Regions from separate parts of the Homo sapiens genome. Here region 2 is linked to region 1. Evidence: promoter capture Hi-C in 16 types of primary human blood cells and fetal thymus (Javierre and others, 2016). All regions are on one chromosome and are shown on one strand. The core of a region is centred on a gene start or on the middle of the fragment in contact, and the rest is flanking DNA. Distances in the headings are between cores, read along the strand shown.

Region 1 (4,301 bases), core at 828-3,327:
CACAGGACTCAGAGCTTGGGGTGGAGACTGAAGGAACAGACAGGAGAGAAAGAAGATTTGGGATGAGTCACATTGGGAGCAGAGATTAGGAAGGGACCAATGTGTAAAAGAATGCCTGGACATCAGGCACCTCAGACTATTTGCCCATTTTACGACAATAATTATCTAGCTCATGTAGGATGGAGAAATTGAAAGTGCCGTTTTCTGGCTATTTGGAACCATTGTTGAGTCTGTATTGGGGTCAAACGGTATTGCAGAAGAAAATAAGGCGTTTAGGTTTTAGGTCAGGTGTGAGTTGAAGAGGTTTTAAGTTCTTGAGAACACAGGCTAAGGGAGAAGAAGGGGGAATGGAGGGTGGAAGGTTGCCCATAGTGAAGGAGGCAAGCCCAGAGAAAAGAAGGTAGAGACCCGGAGAAGGGGGGTGGTGAGCAGCCCTGGGCTGCAATGTGGCTGAGCAGCCAAAGCAGGCGACCCACAATTGACTTGCCACCAAGGGAATGTGGGTGAATGACCAAGGCAGGCATCCCCACGGTGATCAGACACCAATGAAATGTACGTGAATAATCAGGCAGGTGTCCCTGCAGTGATTAAACACCAAGGGACGACTGTTTTCCTGAGTCCGTGACCGGAGCTGGAGTTTTGGGTCCATGGATAAAATATGTCTCCTTTGTCTCTACTAGAGAGGAGAAAGAACTGGAATTGGAAATAGAGGGAGATTTAAGGGTAGTGAGAGAGGCTGGAGAAGACAGTGAAAAGACCGCTTACCCGATTTGAAATTGGTGAGATGTTCCTTGGGCTGTTTGGTCTGAGGACCCGAGGTCATAGGTGGATCTCCTCACAGAGTGAGGGTGAGGACAGGGGACTGGTCTCCTGAAGGAGTCCTCCTGTCCCGGGTCTTCGGCACCAAATGTCACACGTGTCCGTGTGAAGAGACCACCAAAAGGCTTTGCGTGAGCAATAAAGCTGTTTATTTCACCTGGGTGCAGGTGGGCCGAGTACGAAAAAAAGAGTCAGCAAAGGGAGTTAGGGGTGTGGTAGCTTTATAGGATTTGTGTGGGTAGTGGAAAATTACAGTCAAAGGGGGTTGTTCTCTGGTGGGCAAGGCGGGGGCCGGGGGGGTGGAAGGTCTACAAAGTGCTCAGTGGGGGAGCTTCTGAGCCAGGAGAAGGAATTTCACAAGGTAATGTCATCAGTTAAGGCAGGAACCAGCCATTTTCACTACCTTTGTGATTCCTCAGTTGCTTCAGGCCATCTGGATGTATACATGCAGGCTTGGGCTCAGAGGCCTGACACAAGTTGGCACATTTGATCCTATCAACTTTAGTTTGCACTTTCACTTTTGATTTAAGAACATACTTTCTGTTTCTCAGAGGGCAGCCTCTGATGGGAATTTTAATACTCACAAGCATCAGTGGCTATATGATTGAATGTACTTCTTCAGTGTGAGTAAGTGACAACTTTCTGTAGCATGATATCCCTTATGGACACGATCCCCATTCAAAACGTTTTAAAACTATTTTATTGGGGACATTTATTAGCATGTTAAAACTCTTTTACAACCTATTAGAGCATATGCATAGAACATAAAATGTACACTGCCAAGAACAAATTTAAGGATAGGAAGAAAAGCTTACATTTTTTAAAAAGTATAAATTGAAATGTATGCAGTGTAATTTAAATTTGATTACGTTAACCTCCATTTCATCAGGACCACGTGTCGCGTTTTAACAAGAGTTTCCCTATCATGTCCAGGCTTTGGCTCTGGTTGCAGGCGCTGGGTAGGCACTTTTACGAGGAGGGACCTGGCACGATGGCACCACAAATTCCCAAGTGTGTCACCTCTGGGCGAACTTGGGCCTGTCCACTCGGCCCTGCGCGGTGGCCAGGGGCTCACCCTCTCGCACCGGGCGTCCCTCTGCGCGCAGCTTCTCTCGCCCCCCCGCGCCAGACCCGGGCGAATGGCAGCACCGTGGGACCCTGCCTTGACCGCCCCCGCCCTTCGGCGGCCTCTCCCAGCAGCCGGCAGGCTCTTGGGCGCGCCAACAGAGGGGCGCGGCTGCGGCTGTAGTCGCAGCCAGTTCCCGTTCCGGGCCCGCGAGGCAGCCGCCCCGGTCCTGCCCCTCCCTCGCGCTACTGCGGGAGCAGCGTCCTCCCGGGCCACGGCGCTTCCCGGCCCCGGCGTCCCCGGACCATGGCGCTCTCCGGGCTCTTCTCTAGCTCTCAGCGGCTGCGAAGTCTGTAAACCTGGTGGCCAAGTAAGTCCCAGCGACTGGGGATTCGCGCGGGGCAGGCCCTTTCTGAGGTCCTGGGCGCTGCGAGTGAGGAGGCGCAGGGAGGCGGGATTTGCGTGCGGGCGGAACGCAGCGCGGCTCTGGAGGAGCTCTGGGTGGAACCAAGCGGAGAAACCCGCGAGTTTGAAGCATGTAGCGAAAGTTGAGAGGGATGAACTTCACAGTCAGCGGAATCGTTTATCCCACTGTGGTCGAACGCAGGGGTTCTCAATCGTGCCAGCAGCTTAGAACCACCTGGGGAGCTTTTAAAATCCAGATATCCAGGCTGCACCCTAGATCAATTCCATCAGAATCTCACGGAGTCAGACCCAGGCCTCCGTATCTTTTAAAAGCTCCCCAAGTGATTCCAGTGTGCAGCCAGCGTTCGAGGGTTTGTGGCAAAGGCTGGAAGGGCAGACAGGGGCCTTCATGGAGTCCCGCCTGCAGACGGGACAGCAGCTCCCAGTGTCCTGCTTGGTCCTGGAGAGAGGGTGAGAACTTCCCTTGGGTTTCATGCTCCACAAAGTAAGGAAATGAGACAATGCTTGGCAAGGTCGCCTGAATATCACATTCAAAAACGCCTCCAATGTGTGCAGTTGTTTTGGCACATTGTGAAAAACATAGGAAATGACAGAGGTTGATGTCTCATTAGCTCTGCATTCTAGGAAACATTTCGGTTGTTGGTGTTTGAAATTAAGTCTGGGGAAGCTAAGCTAGTAAACCCATGGCCTTGATGACTTCTGGCCTTTCTGCTTTAAGGGTGAAGCCAGGGCCGGGCGCGGTGGCTCACGCCTGTAATCCCAGCACTTTGGGAGGCCAAGGCAGGCGGATCACCTGAGGTCGAGAGTTCGAGACCAGCCTGGCCCAACATGGTGAAACCGTCTCTACTAAAAAAAAAAAAAAAAAAAATTAACCGGGCGTGGTGGCGCATGCCTGTAATCCCAGCTACTCGGGAGGCTGAAGCAGGAGAATTGCTTGAACCCGGGAGGCAGAGGTTGCAGTGAGCCGAGATCGCCCTGTTGCGCTCCAGCCTGGGCAACAAGAGCAAAACTCCGTCAAAAACAAACAAACAAACAAAAAACAAAAAAACGGTGAAGCCAGAAGTCGTGCTTGCCAAAGGGTCGAGTTTGTTCTCCCTCAAAGCCCCTGTTGAAGATTGAACTATCACTTTCAGGGAAGAGTAAAAGAGTAACTCCACGATGCATCTTAGAGAGGAGTGGATTCCCTGTTCTCACCCAGGCTTAGATGCCAGGGGCCAGGTAGCTGAAATCCAGGCAAACCAGGCATTGACAAAGTACAGACTTCTACCGAATATGCCAGACAGATAAGCAAGCTGTGTTTAAAACAAACAGCAGAGTGGTAGAAGAGGGCTCTTTCAAATATTGTAAGAAGAGTAGGTTTTATTTTTGTGGAGTGGAGAAATAAGTTCACGCTTTGGAACCCATCAAATCTGGGTCAAAACTCGGATTCTGTCACTTCTATGCTGTGACTTTGGGCAAGTTCCTTGACCTCTCCAAGCCCCTGTTTTCCCACCTGTAAAATAAAGAGCAACCCTCTCCTGAGGCTAGCATAGTTCAGCGAGATGATGTGCATCACACACCTGGAAGGTGGTGGCGCTGGCAGGTGCTCTGGCAGAGGTAGTTATTAGACACTGGAGTGGCAGTTTGTGCCCGTTAATTGTTTACTTAGTACAGCCACTATGAGGGAGAATGTCTATAAAATGTTCCCTTCAACGCTCCATTCCTTCTCCTGCCCTGCTGCCCCGCTCAGGGCCTTAGCGGGCTTTAAGTCTGAAATCTTAGGCTGCAAATCCCCTCAGTCCCCCAGGGCGTATTAATGGCTCTGGAATACAGTTTTACTGCATGTGATAGGAATGAATATTTTGACACACACACACTCAAAAGCTGTTCTTAATCTTGAGACTTCCTCCTCTCTGTTGCCACATATATATCTTTTAAATGGCTTTCCAAGAAAGCTGGGCTGTGCACAGTGTCTCAGAATTAGTGTATGTGCACACACACGCACGTTGCT
Region 2 (4,400 bases), core at 1,208-3,707, 520 kb after region 1:
CCTTTTGCTAGTTAACCTATGGTATATGATTACTCAGATATATTTAGGTTAAATCCTGTCCCCTTCCATACATAAGTATAGTGTGATATATACCATAATTAGCCTCTAAGGCAGCTCTGACCTCTCTTCTGAGTTCCATACCTGTGTTTTGAGCTGCCTCTTTGCGTTCCCACTTGCATATTCTGCAGGTGAAATAACCTCACGGGTAAGAAAGCAAATTCATTTCCCCCAGCTCATATATGTTGCTGTAACAACATATGCATTGTCGGCCACGTAGTTTATACTAGAAGCCCACGGGAAACGTCGACCCTCACTTCCCCCATCCCCAATGCACAGGGACAGCTGTCACTGAGTCCCGCTGCCCCCTCTCTTGTTTGTCCATCTCCTCCCCGCTGCCCCTGACTCGTTCAGACTGAGTCCATCTCTTTTCTGCTACAATCTTCTCATTTGTCCCTGGGTCTCTTTCTCCTGGGTTCTTCTCCCTACAGGGTTACCAGAATTTTCTTCCCAGAACATAGATAGCTCTACCACTCCCTTGCTGAAAAGTGTTTCGTTTTGTTTACAGGATGAGAGTCCAAGCTGATTTGTATGCCATTCAGAACTCTTCCCAACTGGCACCCTGCTCACTTTTCCTTTCTTTTATTCTCTTTCATTCTTTTCTATTTTAAATTGATAGACTATTTTTAGAGCAGTTTTATGTTTACAGAAAAATGAACAGAAGGCACAGAGAGTTCCCAAACAGCCCCTTACCCTGCCCTCTAGTTTACCCTGCTAGTAACGTCTGGCATCAATGTGGTACATTCGCTACAACTGATGAGCCAATATTGACACAGTATATATATATATATATATTTTGTTTTTTGAGACAGAGTCTAGCTTTGTCGCCCAGGCTAGAGTGCAGTTGCACAATCTTGGCTCACTGCAACCTCCAGCTCTCGGGTTCAAGCGATGCTCTTGCTTCAGCCTCCCAAGTAGCTGGGATTACAGGTGCCCACCATCATGCCTGGCTAATTTTTGTATTTTTAGTAGAAACGGGGTTTCATCATGTTGGCCAGCCTGTCTTGAACTCCTGACCTCAAGTGATCCACCCGCCTCGGCCTCCCAAAGTGCTGGGATTATGGATGTGAGCCACCGAGCCCGGCCTGATACAGTATTATTAACTAAAGTTCATAGTTTATACTCTGTGTTGGATATCCTGTGGGTATACCTATATGTATAATGACAAGCCATTGTAGTATCATAGAGAATACTTTTACTGTCCTAGAGGTTCTGTGCTCCACCTATTCACCCACCCACCCTAGCCCCCAGAAATCACTGATCCTATTGTGTCCATACTTTTGCCTTTCGTAAAATGTCACATAGTTGGAATCATTCAGTGTGTAGCCTTTTCAGATTGGCTTTTTTAAACTTAGTAATGTGCATTTAAGGTTTCTTCCTGTCTTTTCCAAGCTTGATGACACATTTCTTTTTATCACTGAACAATATTCCATTTTCTGGATATACCAGGTTATTTATCCATTCACCCACTGAAGGACATCTTAGTTGATTCTAAAGTTTGGCAGTTATGAACATAGCTGCTATAAATATTTGTGTGCAGTCTTTTGTGTAGACATAAGTTTTTAACTCATTTGGCTAAAGACATTTTAAAATGTAATTTTTCATTTTGAATAGGTAATCATATATTTATGTGGTTCAAAGATTGAATGATATTTAAAAGGTTCACAGTAAGAAGTCTTCCTCCCTTGTCTCCATCCTGTATAACTCTTATTAATTTCATGCATATCCTTCAAGTATTTTATGCAAATCCAAAAAAACTGAATATCAGGCCTTATTTTCTATTGTTTTGTGTGAATGCAGCACATTATGTATACTACTATTAAACATGATTTTTTAATATATAACTTTGAACTTACAGAAAAGTTCTGCACTTTCCTATTTTCACTTAACATTTTCTAAAGATTTTTCTATAGAGATTGTCCTTATTTTTTTCTTACAGCTACATAGTAATCCATTGTGGAGATGTACCATAGTTCATTTAATTAGTGCTCTATTGGTAGATGCTTGGACTCCTTCCAGTATTTTGCTAGTCCAGAAAGTGCAGCTGTGGAGAACCTTGTACATAAGTCATTTTGTGCATGTGTAGATACCATTGGATGTACTTCCAAATGTAGCATCATTGGGTCATAGGGTAAAGCTTTTATAAGAATTGACCTCCGTAAGGGTTATACAATTTCCTGCTTACTTTTCTATTCTCATTGTTAGCTCTGCCCTCTCAGCTTGTACCCTAGGCCCCAGCTACACTGAACTGCTTGCCTTTTCTTGAACAAATAACACACTTGCATTTTTCTGTGCTTTTGCTCTTTCTGTCCTTTGCTGAGAAGATCCTTCTTCTCCCCTCCTCTCATCTACTTGGTAGACTCCTGTTTATCCTTCCAGGCCTCAACACCAATATCCACTCCTCCCTTTAGCCTGATACTCCTCTATGCATGTCAATTGAAATTTACAACCACCTGAAACTAGGAGGATGAGTTCTGGCCCAGGAGAGAGGGGTCCTAGGTTCGTGTTTTGCCTCTCCCTTTATAGTGTCTTGGGCCTTTGAGCCTCTCTGAAACTCAGTTTCTTTATTTGCCAGATAGAGATCATAATACCCCCTCTGCCTGCATTACAGGCTTTAGTGAGACACACGTGAGCTGATGCATGAAAGCACTTTGTAAAGCTTTAAGGAGAACATTGTGAAGAAGGATTTTTTTTTTTTTTTTAAAGAATTGACTAATGAGAATTGCTGTGACTCCGGGTCTCAGTTCCAAAACTGTCTTTGGCACATCACATACTACTGAATCTGCTTTTCAAACTTACTCTTACCCCTTTAGTTCCCTTACAGTTACATCTGTCTCCATCTCCTATACTTGTACCAAGTACAGAATGATGGGTTCTTTCCATATTTAGGTCTAGGAGCCACAATTACTATCATGTAACTTTTATACAAGCAACTATTAAAATACAGACTTTTTTAAACTATGAAGAGTAAGAACTTTTCATAAAAACCCATCTATTCCTCAGCCATTTCATGACATTTTATGTTATTTTATGTTATTTTATTTTATTTTATTTTATGTTTGAGACAGTCTCACTCTGTCACCCAGGCTGGAGTGCAGTGGCATGATCTCAGCTCACTGCAACCTCTGCCTCCTGGGTTCAAGCAATTCTCCTGCCTCAGCCTCCCAAGTAGCTGGGATTACAGGCATGTGCCACCATAGCCGGCTAATTTTCGTATTTTTGGTAGAGACAGAGTTTCATCATGTTGGCCAGGCTGGTCTCAAAACTCCTGAGCTCAAGTGATCCACCCACCTTGGCTTCCCAAAGTGTTGGGATTACAGGCGTGAGCCACCATGCCTGGCCCATTTCATGACATTTTAAACATGTGTCCTGAGGTTTCCCTAGAAACCTCATACTTGAGTGTTGAGGTCCCAGGAAATCATTTTCTGAGAATATAACCCTCTATTATATAATTTATTATATAATAATTTAATTATATATAAACAATTATCTAATAATTATATAATTTAATTACATATACATAATTATATTTAATAATTGTATAATTTAATTATATGTAAATAATTATATTATTTAATAATTACAGTGTTTAATAATTATATGAAACTAATTATATACTAGGTGGTTATATTCTCAGAAAATGATTTCCTGGGACCTCAACACTCTCAAGTATGAGGTTTCTAGGGCAACCTCTGGACACATGCAAAAACCATGGAAAAAGTCGTGTGGACTCCTCATTCATCCACTCACCCACCTGCCAACTGATCCCCCTTTCCAGGCGGTTCTCCCTTCAACTTGTCCACTTAGCCTCTCTCCATCTTCTTGTCAGTCAGTCCCATCCAGCCATCATCTCCATATGTCAAGTTCACTGTATTTAAGACTAGAAGAGTAAGAAATAAGATCCTCCAGTGGGGGGGTCAGCCCCCCGCCCGGCCAGCCGCTCCGTCCGGGAGGGAGGTGGGGGGGTCAGCCCCCTGCCCGGCCAGCCGCCCCATCCGGGAGGTGAGGGGCGCCTCTGCCCGGCGGCCCCTACTGGGAAGTGAAGAGCCCCTCTGCCCGGCCAGCCGCCCCGTCCGGGAGGTGAGGGGCGCCTCTGCCCGGCCGCCCCTACTGGGAAGTGAGGAGCCCCTCTGCCCGGCCACCACCCCGTCTGGGAGGTGTGCCCAACAGCTCACTGAGAACGGGCCAGGATGACAATGGCGGCTTTGTGGAATAGAAAGGCGGGAAAGGTGGGGAAAAGATTGAGAAATCGGATGGTTGCCGTGTCTGTGTAGAAAGAAGTAGACATGGGAGACTTTTCATTTTGTTCTGCACTAAGAAAAATTCTTCTGCCTTGGGATCCT

What was found. Contacts are between HindIII fragments. The CHiCAGO score rates a contact against its expected background, and 5 or more counts as called.
Region 2: a fragment that was not itself captured here is called in contact with the fragment with the promoter of NOD1 in region 1 in 6 of 17 cell types (neutrophils, total B cells, naive B cells and 3 more); the score reaches 9.5 in neutrophils.

The regions. Positions count from the first base shown.
Region 1 is chr7:30,476,560-30,480,860 of GRCh38, reverse strand. NOD1 (nucleotide binding oligomerization domain containing 1) reads left to right here and starts at 2,077. Exons shown (of 14, transcript NM_006092.4): 1 at 2,077-2,255. RefSeq lists a silencer at 1,949-2,188 and an enhancer at 1,837-2,581. The HindIII fragment of the contact is 7,069 bases long and covers 1,632-4,301 here.
Region 2 is chr7:29,961,404-29,965,803 of GRCh38, reverse strand. All of the region lies in intron 2 of SCRN1 (secernin 1), which reads left to right. Among named protein-coding and RNA genes, the nearest start is that of FKBP14-AS1, 25 kb to the left of the region's middle. RefSeq lists an enhancer at 4,350-4,400. The HindIII fragment of the contact is 522 bases long and covers 2,197-2,718 here.